Regions from separate parts of the Homo sapiens genome. Here regions 2, 3, 4 and 5 are each linked to region 1. Evidence: promoter capture Hi-C in 16 types of primary human blood cells and fetal thymus (Javierre and others, 2016). All regions are on one chromosome and are shown on one strand. The core of a region is centred on a gene start or on the middle of the fragment in contact, and the rest is flanking DNA. Distances in the headings are between cores, read along the strand shown.

What was found. Contacts are between HindIII fragments. The CHiCAGO score rates a contact against its expected background, and 5 or more counts as called.
Region 2: a fragment that was not itself captured here is called in contact with the fragment with the promoter of SLC1A2-AS1 in region 1 in 5 of 17 cell types (activated CD4 T cells, naive CD4 T cells, total CD8 T cells and 2 more); the score reaches 8.1 in activated CD4 T cells.
Region 3: a contact is called between a fragment that was not itself captured here and the fragment with the promoter of SLC1A2-AS1 in region 1, in 1 of 17 cell types (activated CD4 T cells). The highest score is 5.5, in activated CD4 T cells.
Region 4: a fragment that was not itself captured here is called in contact with the fragment with the promoter of SLC1A2-AS1 in region 1 in 9 of 17 cell types (M2 macrophages, total CD4 T cells, total CD8 T cells and 6 more); the score reaches 8.6 in M2 macrophages.
Region 5: a contact is called between a fragment that was not itself captured here and the fragment with the promoter of SLC1A2-AS1 in region 1, in 1 of 17 cell types (non-activated CD4 T cells). The highest score is 5.2, in non-activated CD4 T cells.

Annotation. Positions count from the first base shown.
Region 1 is chr11:35,280,192-35,283,743 of GRCh38, reverse strand. SLC1A2-AS1 (SLC1A2 antisense RNA 1) reads right to left here and starts at 1,932. Exons shown (of 2, transcript XR_001748185.2): 1 at 1,829-1,932. SLC1A2 (solute carrier family 1 member 2) reads left to right here. Exons shown (of 11, transcript NM_004171.4): 9 at 2,743-2,877. The HindIII fragment of the contact is 1,231 bases long and covers 1,301-2,531 here.
Region 2 is chr11:34,960,178-34,963,729 of GRCh38, reverse strand. It overlaps PDHX (pyruvate dehydrogenase complex component X), which reads right to left. Exons shown (of 11, transcript NM_003477.3): 5 at 3,212-3,310. Among named protein-coding and RNA genes, the nearest start is that of MIR1343, 20 kb to the right of the region's middle. The HindIII fragment of the contact is 860 bases long and covers 1,237-2,096 here.
Region 3 is chr11:34,976,681-34,980,232 of GRCh38, reverse strand. It overlaps PDHX (pyruvate dehydrogenase complex component X), which reads right to left. Exons shown (of 11, transcript NM_003477.3): 8 at 2,051-2,109. Among named protein-coding and RNA genes, the nearest start is that of MIR1343, 37 kb to the right of the region's middle. The HindIII fragment of the contact is 427 bases long and covers 1,805-2,231 here.
Region 4 is chr11:34,993,898-34,997,449 of GRCh38, reverse strand. PDHX (pyruvate dehydrogenase complex component X) reads right to left here. Exons shown (of 11, transcript NM_003477.3): 11 at 1,322-2,536. The coding sequence ends at 2,278. Among named protein-coding and RNA genes, the nearest start is that of MIR1343, 54 kb to the right of the region's middle. The HindIII fragment of the contact is 5,121 bases long and covers 1-3,552 here.
Region 5 is chr11:35,017,657-35,021,208 of GRCh38, reverse strand. LOC105376626 (a long non-coding RNA gene) reads left to right here. Exons shown (of 4, transcript XR_001748180.2): 4 at 3,039-3,552. Among named protein-coding and RNA genes, the nearest start is that of MIR1343, 78 kb to the right of the region's middle. The HindIII fragment of the contact is 3,480 bases long and covers 1-3,413 here.

The DNA of each region.
Region 1 (3,552 bases), core at 683-3,182:
TTGCTTTAAAACTCAAAGATGAAAAGGGCTTCTTAAGCAAGTCTTTTGCCAAGCAAAGGTAATTTCTGGTATCTCGACTCTTGGTCTTGATGGTAACCATATTTTCCATTAAGTTCCCACTATTAGATGGGAACTTACAGATGGGAGAATGGACCAGTGAGTGATTGAATTTGTGCTTAAATTCTATAAATTTATCTACACAGGGTTTGTTTTATATTAACTGATACTACTGAGCATTTTCACTTGACAAAAGATGAGTTTGACCATATGCATTTAAATCTCTGGCCCCTGGGTGGGTTCAGTCAAATCCTCCTAAATTGTAGACACCACAAGGGCTACCTCTGGGGCACCCACCACGGGTGTATATACTTCATGCCTGCAGTTTGTTTGGAGGAAAATAGCCAAATCTATCTTCAGGCTGCGCTTCCAAGTAAAATTTTCATTTCTCTCCTTTCACTGCATGTAGGAAAATAGTGATTAGAAATTCTTAGCATTTTTATTAATTCATAGAATTTTCAGTGTAGGGAGGGATCAAGGCCATCAAGGACAAGTGTGGCATTGAAATCAAGCAGACCAGTGTTCAAATCCCAGCAGACCATGTTCAAGCTGTGTGACCTAAGTTTCTCCACCCATCCTATCTGTGTTTTCCTCACGGTGAAAGCAGGTGTTACCATATATGTCCCTTGCAGGGTTACTGTGAGGTTCTGCTCTGATATTGTGTGTCTAGTATCTTAACAGCTTCCAGGAACCCTAGAGAAGTGAGCCAGGGGAGTGGAAGGCCAGGCAAAGCAGAAGGCAATGAGGGATGCAGGGAAAATCACTGCCCAAGAAGCTCTTGCAGGGCTTAGAATTCCACACACAGAGACAGTGCCTACCGGAGGGTGAGGGTATTATTAGGGACAAGAGGGGAAAGCAACTTCCAGGAAGAATTATCTTTCTAAGACTTTGTCTCACACAACCAAAGGATAACCAGATAATGTTAATGTTAACCACAGTGCAAAGGGATGTGCAAGAGTGACTCAGAGCAACTGATGCTGTGTATAAAACAGTCAAGGTCAAGACTGTTGGAACTTGGGGAGTTCCCCTTCCCTGGTGTTCTGTCTGTTTGGGAAACAGTTGAGAATTCCCATCTTCCAGCTTTCAGGGCTTTAGGGAAGTTTTCATTGCAAAGCAGCCTGGTCCTGTCCAGATTTCTTGATAAGAAAAACAATTCACATTCACTGGGCATGGTGGGGGTGGGGGAGTTGCAATGTGCCCAGCCTCTTGTAAGTGCATTTTAATTTATTAGCTCCTGAAAGCTTCTGACCACCCCATGAGAGAGATACCATTACTATCTCCTTTTTACAGATGAGGAAGTCAAGGCACAGGGAGGTTAAGTTGCCTGTAGTCATGTGGTTAAGTGGCAGAGCTGGAATTTGAACTCAGGTTGTTCAACTGCAGAACTTTCACGGCTGAGCACTCCACACTGTACCTCCTGTGACCCAGATGGATTCAAGGAAATTGGAGTGCTCTGAGCCTTGACACCATGGACGGGGAGGGGAAGGGTGTGGTTGGGGGGTCTGTAGATCACACCCAGGGCAAGTGTCTATGCAAGGATGGGCCTAAACCTGGGAATGATGGCAATAGGGGAAAAAACAGCTCAAACCACAGGCTCTCCAGGGGCCTTAATCTTCCAAACGTAAGATTAGGTATATTCAGCAATAAGACCCCAGGATTCTGTGCTTGGTCAACTGATGGCCTGGATTTAGTTGAAACAATTTGAGAGGCTGCCTCTCAGCTCATAAAATTTCTAGTATTTTATAACTACAAAGAAAGCAGTCCCCCTTACCTTTTGGCACCCACAAAAACAACTTGGGAATCCATATTTCCAAAGTACTCTTGGATATTTTGATATGACATTTTGATATGACAGCTTTGTACAAATGGCATCTAGAAAAGAGGAAAAAGAGTCACTGCCCTTTGCCAGACCACAGAGACTCCCTGGTGTCAGGACAGGGCACTTGAACTCCAGATTAACCCTCTCCCAGAGACAAACTTCAAAATGGTGCTGGGTGTGGCCCTGGCATTGCTTGGAAAGAACTGATGAGATGCTTCAGAAAGAAAGCCTTCCTTTCTTTCATTATCATTTCTTGGCATCCCCTTTCTGAATAATGTATTTTCCAGCCCATGGTGAGGCATCCAGGCGCCTGACGCTTAGTGTCATTTGGAATCTGTTGATTTGTTTCCCTGATGTCCAACTCAGTTGGGTCTGGATATTTGCTATTCTGAGTTCTCATGTTAACCTTGGCAATGGCCTTCTTAGACCCTTGCCACATAGTCCAAAAGCCTCTGGTGCTCACAGAGACATAAAAGCGTAAGCAGAAATGAATGCAGTTGTGTTCCCATGGGAGGATTAAGGGTGATTTGTTTTTATCTTTAATATTTCCTTGCCTGCTTTTAGAGCCACGCTTGCCTTATTTGAGCCCTGTGATATATTAGACTAACCGGATAGCATCATGGGAATAAGGCTCCAGTCCATGAATTTATAAGCTTACATCATAGTTGAGCAGTACCCAAATAGGCCTTAATCCTTAATTCCTTGGTCTTAGTACTTTAGATTTCTCTATTCCTTGGTGGAGAGTATGGGGTGGGGGTTGGGGGATGAATTTTATGGCTGCAGGAAAATTAGAGCTTAAAATTGCCAGGGTTGGTTTTGCTAAGATTCTTTCCATTTCCATGACCTGAACTTCTCTGTTCTCATAGCCTCACAGCCACCCTGGCAAGCGTCGGCGCGGCCAGTATCCCCAGTGCCGGGCTGGTCACCATGCTCCTCATTCTGACAGCCGTGGGCCTGCCAACAGAGGACATCAGCCTGCTGGTGGCTGTGGACTGGCTGCTGTAAGTGTCTGTGGATGGGGTTCTGCTGGGACTGTGAGTACTGCCTCCTAGGGATGCACAGGTGGCAAGGTTGCAACCAAGATCTTAGCTAATCCCCATGGCAACTCCCTCACTCTTCCTTCCTCCTTCCCGCTCACATTTACTGAGGACCTATTTGAGAACCAAAGAAGAAAAAGATGAAATATTTGAAGGCGTCACAGTCTAGTGGAGGAATCAGAGAGATTATGACACAAGGTTAAAAGTACAGTAATAAGGAACCAGCTACTGATGCATTCAAAGAATCTCAGAACATTATATTGAATGAATAGAGCCAGAAACAAAGGAGTATGTACTGTATGATTCCATTTATATGAAGCTCTAAGAAAAGACGATGTACCACATATCAATAGAAAGAGATCAGTTGGGGCTGGGTGCGGTGGCTCATGCCTGTAATCCCAGCACTTGTGGAGGCCGAGGCAGGTGGATCATCTGAGGTTAGGAGTTCAAGACCAGCCTGGCCAACATGGTGAGACCCCATCTCTACTAAAAATACAAAAAATTAGCTGGGCGTGGTGGCATGTGCCTATAATCCCAACTACTCAAGAGGCGGAGGCAGGAGAATTGCTTAAACTCGGGAGGCGGAGGTCGCAGTGAGCTGAGACTGTGCCACTGCCCTCTAGCCTAGGGGACAGAGTG
Region 2 (3,552 bases), core at 417-2,916, 320 kb after region 1:
AATTAAAATAGCAGCCCTGATACCCAAGATTTTCTTCACAAATACAGTGGGCTGGAGGCATTTCCTTCAGCATTTGGAACTGATTTTTCTACCCAGACTTTTAGTGGACATGGTATGGAGCATGTCCTCACCGTGTCAAGAACGTGTGTTGGCTGGGCACAGTGGCTCACGTCTGCATTCCCAGCACTTCGAGAGGCTGAGGTGGGAGGGTCACCTGAGGCCAAGAGCTTGAGACCAGCCTGGGCAACCTAGTGAGAAACCGTCTCTACAAAACTGTTTTAAAAATTTAGCCAGGCATGGTGGCACACCTGTAGTCCCAACTATTTGGGAGGTTGAGGTGATAGGACCACTTCAGCCTAGGAGTTCAAAGCTGCAGTGAGCTATGAATACACCACAGCACCCCAACCTGGGTGACAGAGTGAGAGCCTGTCTCTCTCTTAAAGAAAAAAAAATTCAAAACGTTAAAAAATAAAAAAGTGTGCTAAGATATTTTGGGGACAGCTATGCCAAAGCCTGCAATTTTTCAACCATAGCAGAAGACGACATTAGGCTAAAATTTTTTCCAAAGCTCACCTTAATGATAAACTTAAAATGCAGGCATTTTTAGCAGTATAGAAAAGCAAAAATCCTCAATAATATATGCTTTCAGGATCCATTTTTCTCATGAAATCTTTTGTACTAGTTCTTATTTTGAAGACCAAAGGCTGATGCCTTTCTCGTGGAGAGTTAAGGAATAAAGGCAGGGAAGAGAAAAGGGTAACAGGGTAGAAAAGATGGCAATAATACTAAAAGCCTAACTCTTTAATACTGCTTCCTTATGGTATTCAGGAGATAATACCATTTTGTTCTTAAGAAATGTTTCATTAATATTATAACTTTCAACTCAGGTTTAAAAAAAGATATTTGCGCATCATATATGTATTAAGCACACATGGAAAGAAAAGGAAGGAAGAAACCTTTATTTCTTTATTTTACTGCTGTCACACTACTGAACACCATATTACCAAATTTAAGAGGCTTTTCTTAGATCCTACCATCCTTGACTTTTCCCACATTTCCCAGGTATCCTCCAACTCAAGGATTTTAACCTCTAGTTTCCCTATTGATGATCTCAATTATAACTATTGCTTTATTATCTACCAAATCTACCTCTCTAATCCCCAACTATCTCCTGAGATACATCTTCATCTCATTGATCCCAATACCTACATGGCTTCTAAGTCCTGACAATAAGCTTCAAACATTACTAACTCCACCAAAACAAATGCTTCCCAAATCCATTATTTCTATTTATGGAGACCAAACTATCATCACCTAGACCAGATCCAAATTCATTCCCTTACTTGTTGCTACTCTGGCCTACACTCCACATTTAATCTGCAAAGGCTTCTGGACTTTATCCTTACAATGTTGTCTGTATCAGGGATCTCCCTTTTAGTTCTTCTAACCACATTCAAGTATTCATTACCTCTTACATGGATTACTTTAGGAGCCTATTAATTTATCTCCTTATCTCATCTTTTTCTGCTCCAGTTTATCTTACACAAATTTGCAGAACTGATCCCCCTAAGGTGCAGCAATCATTATTTTACATTTCACCAAATCCTCAAAGATTAATGAATTAAATACAGACTCTTATTCCTAATCCTCAGAATTATGAGCAAGGCAAATCTACTTTGTTATAAAAATAGTTGCTTTCTCCCATTTTTACAGAGAGTGCTACTAAGGCACAGACTGGTAGAGACTAACAAGATTAAGATACCAACAGTAGACACAAATCAGGATTGGTGTGGGGAAAAAACTGGGATTAACTGGCAACCAAGGTTCTTAATTTTAATTTTTTACAGCTAAGTGTAACTTTTAAATCCTTTAACTAAAAATCCCATGGTCTGGGATGTTGCCTTTCAGTCAGCTCTCAGGACAGCTGATTTCCAACTCATGCAGTGTGGCACGAACTTCACAGTATGTGTGTGATAGAACCACATACATTCAGTTAACAAATTAGTAAGAGTGTAATACACATAAATGAGGATATCTAAGAATTAAATCTATATACTGCTTTCAATAAAATAAACACCCAACAGTAAGCCAAAGCTTTCATGAAGAGTAAAATAACCCAGTGGAAAAAAGAAAACATTGCCTGGCCCAACACTGCCACTTATAATTTAACAACCATTGCTCTCTCTCGACTTACAAAAATTCTGGCCAATATTATTTTTTATTTCCTATCAATATTAGATAAATATGGAATGAGTACATTGCTTTAAAACATAAACTCAATTTGAAACATTTACTATTACTGCCAATAAAAATGTAGCACATAACACTACTGAAATCTTACATTAGTTCATAAGCCTATTTGATTAATCTTTGTCTACCCTACTAGACTAAGTTTCAACAGAACAGGGGCCATCTGTTTTGAAAGACACAAACATTTAAACTAATGGAAAGACACAAACATTTAAACCAGTGTTGCAGAACAGAAAGACCCATCATGATAAAGATGTCAGTTCTCACAAAGTTAATTTAAAATGTGATACAATCCCATAAAAATACCCCTCACTCCTACCCATGGAGCTAGACGAACTGCTTAAAATTCATTTGGAAGAATAATAAAATAAGAATGAACTAAGAAAACTGATTTAAAAAAAGAGCAAAGCTATTGTTATCAGATTTTAAAGCATACAATAAAACATTTCTAATTAAAAGTGTGGTACTAAAAAAGTATGGTACTAACTCATGGACAGATGGATCAGTGAAATAGAAAAGAAAATCTAAAAAGAGACCAAACTGTATATGGAAATTGCTTTATAACAGCACAAGTGAATAAAATTCAAAGGGATAATGAAAATAATTTTTTAAAAATATATTTCCTTGTTTTAGAAATGTAAATGTTATTGCATGATTTCACATATTTAATACTGTATAAAGTTTCACTGTTCTACGCTCTAATTTTCTGCATTTATTACCACTTCTAAGGATCTTGCTTAGTTACCAAATTAGAGCTGTTCTTCAGTAATGCTATAATTATTCAGAAAACAACTCTTGCATAGAATACAATTTACAATGATAAAAGCAATTAAAAGTACAAAAGAAGAACAGTGTACCTCCTTTTAAATCTTAAGACTGAATAAGCTCTTTTTATTTTCTTTCAAAAAAACATGATCATAATAAATAATGGAACTGGTTATTACAAAAAGCAAACACATACTCTTTAGTGAATATCCCCCGAGGGCCAGTGGCTGTGCCCTGGCTAGCATCCAGTGAGTGTTTTTCCAGAATATTGCGGGCAGCTGGACTTAAACGGAACCTAAGAAAAAAATATGAAGGTTAATAGAACCAATTAACACTTACATTTGATTCAAATAGATCTAAATGTCAACAGTTTCGCAAATAATTAAAAAAAAATCTTATAATAAAGCTAAAATGACTCCCACAGATGGTCACAGTCAAATAATCTGTACCAATTTGGTTTATTTTATTCTTTAAACACTTTCGTAAAAATTTAGTTACTATTTCTAAATATGATTTTAATAAGAATAAATATTAATT
Region 3 (3,552 bases), core at 769-3,268, 300 kb after region 1:
TATAAATATGCAATAGAAGTGAGATAGAGGTCAGAATAACCCCAGGCACTGAGGATGTTAAAATAATTATAAGAAACAAAATGACTCTAGGCTAGTAAGTTTGGGAATCTAAATTAAATGAGTGATTTTCTGGGAAAATATAAGCTTTTAAAATTGATTTTTTAAAAAAGCTGAAAATTAAAACAGATCAGTAATTATGGTGAAAGAAAAAAAAAAAGGGAAAGCTGCCAAGATCCCCTCCTCAAAATAGAAGCAGGTTCAGATATTTTTACTGGTGAATTCTATGAAACTAGAAAATATAAAAAAATTTATAATATTGAAATGTGTACAGAGGAAAGAAAAGAAGAAATAATCCAAATTCATTTAATGAAGCCAATGATTAGGGAAAAAAGGTCTGATAATGTTGGCACAAAATTTAAATTACCACTACTTATGACTCTGGATACAAACATTATCCAATGAAATATTAACGAATAGCTTATGCCCATTAGAGATTTATTTAAGGAGTGCAAAAATGATTCACAATTAATGATATCAATCACAATAATAGTCAATTAATTAAATCATTAATATAATTCAAAATATTTCATCAAAAGAGAAAAGTTATATGAATAATTAGATACTGCTGAAAGGGCATGCTTTTTAAGTTCTGTATTAATGTAATTTTCAGAATACAGAGTGCTAACCATTACACCATGGAACCCTCATTAATGTATTTTTCAAGAAATAAAAAGTTAATTATAAATGTACTTTAAATACAGTCTGTTAACAAGCAGTGATCCCAGAAAATAGCCTCGTTACAGAAAGGAGGCATGATGAAAAATAGTGCCAGGCAGGAAGGCAGGAAGCCTGGGTTCTAGATTTACAACTCCAGCCAGCTAGGTTTACATCACCTCCACTGAACTGCAGGCTCATATGTTCACCTGCCTTCCTGCCACCTCCACTGGAATATCTGTTAGGCTCCTCAAATGTAACATGTCTAAAACCAAACTCTAGATTCCTTAACCCAAAGCTATACCCCTCCCAGTTTTCCCAATCTTAGTACATGGAAAACTCATTCCTCCCATTGCTTGGGCCAAAATGCTTGTTTCTCTTTCTCACACCCCATATCCAATCCATCAGCAAATCCTGTTGGCTCTACTTTTGAAACATAACACAAATCTCCACTTCACCCTAGCTCCATTTGCTACCACATTTGTCCAAGCCACTGTGATCTTCTAAAGCCTCCCAGGGGAGCTCATCGTCTCCTCCCTTGCCTCTCCACAGGCTACATTCTACACAGCACCCAGGGCAGCCTCTCCTTTTCGTTTCTGAAGTATAAGTCAGATCACATTAGTTATTTGTTCAAAACCCTCCAAAGGCTTCCTTCTCACCCATAATAAAATCCCTAGTCCTCACCATGTCCAACAAGGCCTCATGTACTTGGGTTCCCCTTCATGCTCTCCCACTGTTATTTAAATCTTATCTCCCACCTCTCCATACTAGGCACATTCCACCCTCAGCACCACATCTTTGGTTAATGCGATCCTCTGCTTGCAGCCTTGGTGTTTGCTGGTCCCTCTGTGTGGAATGCACTTTTACCACATACCTATGTGGCTCACTCCCTCTGTTTTCTCAGGCCGTATCTAAATTATCGCCTTGTCAGAGGGGCTTCCCTCGCTTCCCTTTTGAAAAATCACCCCTAGTTACTTTGTCCCCTTATCCTTTCTTTTTCTCCTCAGCACTTTCACCATCTGACATATAATAGTGTTTGTCTCCTCCAACTAGAATGTAAGCCCCAGGGACAGCAGAAATCAAGTAAGCTTTTGTTTACTGCTCTATCTCTAATGCCTAGAATAAATGGTTTTCATCCTGCTCTAATTCATTGTGAGCCCTTTTGATTTACAGTTTCTTCATTTGTAAAATGAGGGAGATCAAACGATAGGATATTTTTAGCAAGACAATTATAAAATTTTTGTGATTTAAAAATAAGAGTTCTATTTGTCATTGTAAAAATTCCACGACATGAAACTACTTAAGAAGACAAAATCATTTGAAGTCTGCTACTTACTTTAAGGGTAACAGCTGCTGCCTTGATGATAAAATCATTTACTGATACTTTAATGTCATCTGAAAGAAAAATAAGGTTAGTAAAATTAGTATTCCTAATATAACTTTAACATTGACCATTACAACTTCAAACTTGTAAATTATGGAATGTACTGACAAACAATGATAAAAAATTACAAGCTTTTGTTTGCTTAGTCAATAAGGTTCCCATGATTAGAAAAACTTGCATTATATGAGGTCCTGGATCAATAATATTAACCATGAATGTAAGTTTACTTCTGGGCCTTGGTTATCAATTTTTTAAATTGCTTAGATATCATACACAAGAACCTGAAGGACCCATTACAAGCATAATCAGAAAAAAAGAACTAACTCCTATGTCTCGAAAAAGACAAATGATCTCTCTGTGGTGTGTGCAGTCAGGAAGTTTACAAGATGATTCATTTTCTTCCTCGTTCTTTTCAAATACCCTTATTCTCTGTATGCTTTATAACATACTGATTATACTAGAACAGTGATACATGTAGGTACTTTATATATAAACAGTTATATATACACATATGGGAAAGTGTTCGAAAATTTCTTTTTACTAATGGGGTGTAGGTGAAAAAAAATTTAACTGCTTTTTAACTTAACAAAACAGGATATAACAAAAGCCAAAGATGAAGCAATGCTGGCATAGGTCCTAGTGTGATTAATAAAATGAGGTTCTCCATCCATAGTTTTATGGTGAATGCATTTGAATCAATTTCTTTCCAGTATACATAATGATTTTAAGATAAAGCTGGGGTCCTCCCACTTCCTACGAGCTGATCATAACTAAAGTATTTGTTTATGTCTTTGCATTTGCCACTGGGTATAACAGTGTTAGAAAATGTAAACAACACTTGATTCTTTCTTGCAAGAGCTTATAGAAAAAGACTCTAAGATCTAGATCTAGTCAGTGGTATGTGGCAAAAAACCTATCCTATTACTAAAGTATCACGGAATTTTAGGTGAATAACAGCTCATTCCAAAGGCATCCTGGAGACTACAGAAAGGGATTAGATGAATTACCATAAACCTAAATACTGTCAAACTGTCACGATAACTGTCAGCTGCAAAGTATCAAAGCTCCTCTAATTCAGAATTCCAGAAATATATAAACATTTTTGCTTAAAACCCCTTTAGGAATAGAAATATAAATGGACTTACAGTGCTTACAAGCTTTTAATGATAACCACATAGAAAGATTTGGTTTGTACAAATTCAAATGTAACAGTTCATGAACTTACTCTGCTTACCTTTCATGGCTCTCTCAGCTTTCTCTTCACTTTATCTACTTACCCACAGGTATTCACAGTGAAGACTTCTAAAACCATCTGCCAGCTAATGACCCCCAAACCTACCACCTAAGTCCACAGTCCTCACTTAAAATTCTGTATTCAGCATACTCCCACATTTAGGAACATTCTTGAGTTGAATGAAATATATTCTTTTACTGGCTCCTATGTCACTATACTC
Region 4 (3,552 bases), core at 744-3,243, 290 kb after region 1:
TTTAGAAATGAAAACTTCCTTAATCTAAACCACCTCATCAGTATAGAAATACCAGAGACAATATTTTTGGTCAGAATGAACAAGCATTTGTACCAGAAGCTGAGAAGTCAAACCATGAGAGGCAGGTGATTATATGAAAAGCCTGGTTGTGAGGTCCATGAATTAAAACATCTTAAATTTATACAGCGATTTCCCTTGTACAGTTCAACTCTCTAAGGCAGGCTGAGTAAATATTAATGCCCATTTCACCTATAGGGAAACAGATGCACTACTGCTTATGTACGTCAGTTCATGAAAAGCAGAACTCTGAGTCAGGCTTATTTATGGCTGCCTCATCATGTTCTGTTCCTCAGATATAAAAATTAAAATGAACAAACAAACAACAACCACAACAAAAACAACGGCCTAGCACAGTAGCTCATGCCTGTGTAATCCCAGCACTTTGCGAGGCCAAGGTGGGTCGACTACTTGAGCCCAGGAGTTTGGGACCAGCCTGAGCAACATGGCAAGACCCTGTCTCTAAAAAAAAAAAATAGAAAAATTAGCCAGGCATGATGGTGCATGCCTTTAGTCCTTAGCTACTCGGGAGGCTGAGGGAGGAGGATCACTTGAGCCTAGGAGGTCGAGGTTGCAGTGATCTGTGATCCCAGCACTGCACTACAGCCTGGGCCACAGAGCAAGACCCCATCTCAAGAAAAAGTAGTAATAATAATAATAATTTCGATTAAAACTGACCTTGGAAATAATGTAACATAAAAATTATTTTGAAAATAGCCTTTGGTTATAATTTTCAGTGTAACTGTTAATATGACAAAAGTTTTGAAGACTATTTTTTTTAAATGGCTTGTTAAACTGAGTTGGATAGTTGGATTAAGCATTTTCTTAACAATTAATACACCAGGGTGCTAATTATTTTAGAAGGCTCTTCTGTTAGGGTTTATAATTCATCATGTCATACCATACAACTTGTACTATATTAGCCTTTCTTCTATTGATTCATGTCAGCTGACACTAACATAAACCTTTTTGTGACAAGTTAATTAAATTACCATTCATTACCATCCAACTTAAATATAGTTATCTTGACAGTTATAGCAGAGCTGCCAAAAGAGAGAAACAAACTCTTCTAAACTTTATAATAATTAGTGAAAATTTCATATTAGTGAAATAAAAAGGATAGTTCTCATCTGTTTGGCTTCATAAGTCTTCTATTCTCTTTCCAAAGTTTTACATTTCCTATCAGTTACTTTCCTAATGTCATACTAATTTTAAATTCCGTCTTTTCTCCTGTAGAGCCCTTTTAAAGGTGTTCTAGAAAAACTACTAATCAACTTCAAGGTTTATTGAACTTTTGTGTTTTAACATTTAAAATACAATAGAAATGTTTATATTTTCTCACATTTTACTGCACAATACAAAACTGATTTAAATGCATTAAGAAACAACATTTTGTTTTTAAATAAACACTAACAAAATGTTTGGCAAGAGATAACACAATTTATTTAAATATATTCCGACTCAAGATGAAGGCAAGCGGTTTACCTAGAAAGGTTTACATATTTTAGCTATAGTTTTTCATTGAACCATTTTTTTGAAATGTCATTCTTTTCATTCATGCTTCTTTTATCCTCTTGCTTTAGAAGTTCACAGTGTTATATAAGTGAAAAACAAGACAGATAGAAACCACCCTAAACATATGGCTTTATGTACATAAAAAATTCAATAATGTTGCCATAACCCCTAATACAGTGTGATCCTTATTTATTTATTATCCAGAATAAACTTCTGTACCTATTAAATTCTTCAAGTATATCTAGAGCAGTGCTTGTAAAAGTGAGGTCCCACTGCTAAGTTAATGGCCATCTCTTTGAAGATCACTTCTACCTTCAACATAATTATGGTACAGTTCTAATAGTTTTTTTAATTTTACATGTATCATACATTCTCAAATATTCCAAAATGCTCAAATGAGCCAAACATATACTTTGATTTACATCTAGTTTAATATTCCCTTTATACAGCACCAGAGGTTAAAAATGGATCTGAGTAACCAAATATTCTCTTTCCTTTATTAGTTAGAGTTTATCATCATTTATTTCTATAACATTAAACCCAAATTGAAGATGAAGACACCCTGGGTCAAATGCTTTCACCTTAAATAAATAAACATTTCATCCACTTCATACTTAAATACCAAGTTGTTTTCCTATAACATATGTTTCTTGGTAACAACTACTGAATCAACTAAGCTGAACACCAACTTCTTATCTTTGAGGACTAGGCAAGTCGGATAGGATTCTCTAGGTTTGCTTTAAAACTTTTAAGAAACCTGGTTGCCAGTTCGTCATCAACCACTCGACTGTCACTTGACATTGTGACTGTTATGAGCTGGCGCTGCTGCAGTTTGGCATTTCCCTCTTCATCCTCAGTGAGCTTCAGCACAGGTCGGAACCTCCCAACCGCCAAAATGCAGGCCTGAGGAGGGTTAATCACTGCAGTAAATTCGTCGATGCCAAACATCCCCAAGTTGGAAATACTAGGGGGAAAAGAAAAAGCTCTGAAGGAGGCATGTCCTTAATCAAAGTCCCCTTTCCGTGAAGCACATATTTTATATATTTTACTAGGCAGTGTAGTAAGGCAAGAAAAAAATATATGAGTAATGAAAAAAGGAAACATTTAGTATTTACAAATAAATTAATTGTGTACACAGGAAAAATGAGACTATAGATAACTAGTAAAATTAATAAGTAAATTTAGTTAAGTCATCAGATAAAAGGTCAATATAACAATCCATTTTATATCGAGTCATGTCCCACATAACGAAGGATCACATATACAACGGTGGTCTTATAAGATTATAATGGAGCTCAGGAATTTCTGCTGCCTAGTGGCATCATAGCTGTCATAACATCATATTGCAATTACTTTATTTTAAAAATAAATTTAGTGTAGCCTAAGTGTGCAGTGTTTATAAAGTCTACAGTAGTGTATAGTGATGTCCTAAGCATTCACTCATTCACTGATTCTTCCAGAGCAACTTCTAGTCTTGCAAGCTCCATTCACGGTAAGTGCCCTAAACAGGTGTACCATGTTTTACTTTTTACATTTTTACTGTACATTTTAAAAATGCTTAGATATGTTTAGATACCCAAATACTCATCATTGTGTCACAACTGCTTACGGTATTCAGTAGAGTAACATGCTGTATAGGTTTGCAGTCTAGGAGCAACTGGCTATATCATACAGCTAAGGTGTGTAGCAGCATGTACCATTTAGGTTTGTGTAAGTACACTCTATGATGTTTGCATGATTTGCGTAAGTACACTCTATGATGTTTGCATGATGAAACTGCCTAACAATGCATTTCTCATATCCCCATCATAAAGTGGCACATGACTCTACATACAAGTTGCTATAATTAGAAAATAAAAATTTAAAACAATACCATTTATAATAGTATCAAAAAACAAATACCAAAGAATAAATCTAATGAAACATATACAAGACCTCTACACAGAAAATTATAAAACATAACTGAAAGAAATCAAATAA
Region 5 (3,552 bases), core at 424-2,923, 260 kb after region 1:
GTTTCAGCAGTACTAATTTAATGTCAGTATACTTTAGTTTTACATTAAATTATCACTGTTCTCTTGGGAATTGGATTCTTTTTTTTTTTCTCTGAGGCTTTGGATTTGACATTGTATTTGACTTTATATGTGGTAATTGACATGTGTCAGGACAATGATGAATTGGAAGCTACCCCAAACTCACACATCATAGGTAACTGTTGCTTATAGACTTTTAAAGCCAAATGGTAGACATTTCCCATTGCTTGCTCCCATCTAACAAAAGCGATAGGTTCATTGAGCTATAAAATTGTACTTATAGTTGGTTAAAAAAAGATGTAAGCCATCATTTTGTACAAACAAGCTACAACATTCTACTAATAAAAACAGAAGCTCTGTTTGTCAAAATTTACACACACACAACAACTAAACTATCAATTTTTTTCCACAAGGCTAATGTTGAATTAGAAAAAAATCTTGACATAATCATATGAGATTTACCTCTTCACTGCCCATAATCAATCAGATATTAGAAATTTTTAAACCTTTGAATTGTTTTGGAAATCAACCTAAGTGTCCTATAATGTACTGAACTTTTATTTATTTACTTATTTTAAAATGAGAACTCTAAATTCAATTTAATTTAAAATCAGTTGGAAACCTTTAATTAAAGTATACAATAAATGGAAAGTTCCCAAAGTGTAGCTCTTGAAGATTTTGGAGAACTGCCATTAATAGAAACAAAGCTAGTAAACAAGAAGACACTGAAATATATTCTTATTTGCGAGGCTGAGGCAGGCAGATCATCTGAGGTTGGGAGTTTGAGACCAGCCCAGTCAACATGGTGAAACCTCGTCTCTACTAAAAATACAAAAATCAGCCAGGCATGGTGGTGGGTGCCTGTAGTCCCAGCTACTTGGGAGGCTGAGGCAGGAGAATCACTTGAACCCAGGAGGTGGAGGTTGCAGTGAGCCTAGATCATACCACTGCATTGCAGCCTGGGCGACAGAGCCAGACTCCATCTAAAAAAAAAAAAAAAAAAGTATTCATATTAAATCAAAGTGTTTCTAAACACATAAAATAGTGATCAAATAGTATATGAGATTTTATTAGGAAAATTAGTCATTGAGCTTCAAGTATCTTGACATCTAGGAAGAATATTTTGATGGGCTTCTATTGTTAATTAATTAGATAAATTAGTACTCTGTGCTGGAATAAAGTAAAATTCAGAAAACCTACCATTTTTCAGCATCTAAATTTGATAAAGCACTTAAAACAGAGACAACCTTTTTGCTAAATTTTGTTTTTAAAAATATTTGTGGGGGAGGCGAGGATAGTTAATGTGTACAAAAAAACAAAGAATGAACAAGACCTACTGTTTGAGAGCACAATAGAATGACACTAGTCAATAATAACTTAATTGTACACTTTAAAATAACTTAAAGAGTGTAACTGGATTGTCTATAAAATTGAATTGGATTGAGGGGATGGATTGAGGGGATCATTCTCCATGATGTACACGCTTATTTCACATTGCATGCCTGTATCAAAGTATCTGATGTACCCTGTAAATATATATACCAACTATGTACCCAAAAACATTTAAAAAATTGTCAAAACAGTTACTCTAAGTGGAACAGTATCTGCGAAATATTTAGTTTTATCAATACCAAATACAGAATTGAGAATATTCTCCATCCAGCATAAACTGCCCTGATCTTACCAGTTACCTCAGCATCTGTAAAACTGGATATTTTCTCAATTGAAAAACATACTTTTTGCTACAAAGAAGAGTCAATTGATATATCAATAATTTTAAATTTATTAGTTATAGATTATAACTTTGAAGATCTCAGGAACTTTATTTTTTAAAAAACCACAAAACATTAAAACATACTAAAAAATAGAATCTTCAGAAAAATATTAATGACTCAGTACTAGAGCTAAAAATGGCTCAGAATGAATAGGTGAAGAAAAAAAGATTTTTAGGACAGTGAAACTACTCTGTATGCGTAGATACATGTCATAGTGTATACACGTTATTATACATTTGTCCAAATCCATAGAATGTATAACACCAAGGGTGAATCCTAATGCAAACTATGGACTTTGGGGATAATGATATGTAAATTATTTTGATCAGTTGCAACAAATCCATCATTCTGGTGGGGGATGGTGCCAATGGCGGAGACAATGCCATATGTAGGAGCAGGGGGGATACGGGAAATCTCTACCTTCCACTCAATTTTTCTGTGAACCTAAAACTGCTCTTTTAAAAATCTGCTAAAAAATATTAAAGCATAAAAAAGTGCTAAAGTTATGACCTAATAAATGAATTTGCAGAAATGCAAGCGAGAAAAATTTTATGATCAATCAAGATACCACATTAATAAAGTACTTCTACTTTTTGTATTGTATAAAATTCAGACACTAAAAATAACATTTCTGTAGGTTTATTTTGTTACTTACGTATCACAATTACACATATTACATTTTATAAGTAGTAAAATTTTTTAAAGAAAAAAATAACTAAGAAAGTGATTACAAAACAAGAATAATTTCTGATTATATTATTTTAATGGTCATATAGCCAATATATAGGCGTTTAAATTTTATTACATTAATGTACAAGGATATATAATTTGGCTTATTAGAAATTATTTTTGAAAATATTTTAATACGATAGTTTTTGTCATTACACTAATATAACAAAATCTTTCTCATTTGACAAATATTTCAAAAATATATAACAAATTATTTTAGCATTCCTTCTCCTCTCAAAAGCATGCTGTCACTCTGTTTTTGAAGACAGTTAAAAGAATTCCATTTCTGAACACTGTTAAGAAAAGTGGGGGAGTCCCAGCAGAGTTTTGGGCAAAGGCAATGGAATAAACATGGCATTTCTGAAAAGAGACACTTGCAAAGGCCCAACACTCGCAAAGCATACCAGGCATAATGTAAATAGGAAAAAGAAACTATTCCGTTGATTCAGTTCATTTGTAAAAGGAGTTTTCCCAAGGTAGATCACAAACAAACCAGTCCATGTGAATCACTTGCAGAGCTTTGAACCCTGAACCCAGCATTCTGAGAGTGGGAACCAGAAATGTGCATTTGAAAAGACTCCCCAGGCAATTCTGATGAGGAGCCAGTGAGCCTGCTGAACCAGGTGACTACTGACATCTCTTCTTTGAGTGACTTTCGACCATCCCACAAATGTCTGCTCGACGGTGTCCTGGAAGAGCTGGGTCATGGCTCTCATTACACACTACTCAGCATCATACACCAGGTTGTATCACACATCTCATTCACACTACTGAGCATCATACACCAGGCTGTATCACACTTTGTCCGGACTTCATGAGTCTTCCAGTACAGTGATGGGACGTAGGTTTTCTAGACTTGCCTATGGGCTTCTCCTCTTTCCTAATGAAGCTTCCACTCATCCAAACGTCCTTTGAGGAGGAAATTTATCCAACTCACTCCACTGCAAAAGCTGGAGAACTGACAAGATTCTTCCTGACCACTTCAGTGGCTATGATTATAGGCAGTATTGTGGTTTTCATTTGCAAAATG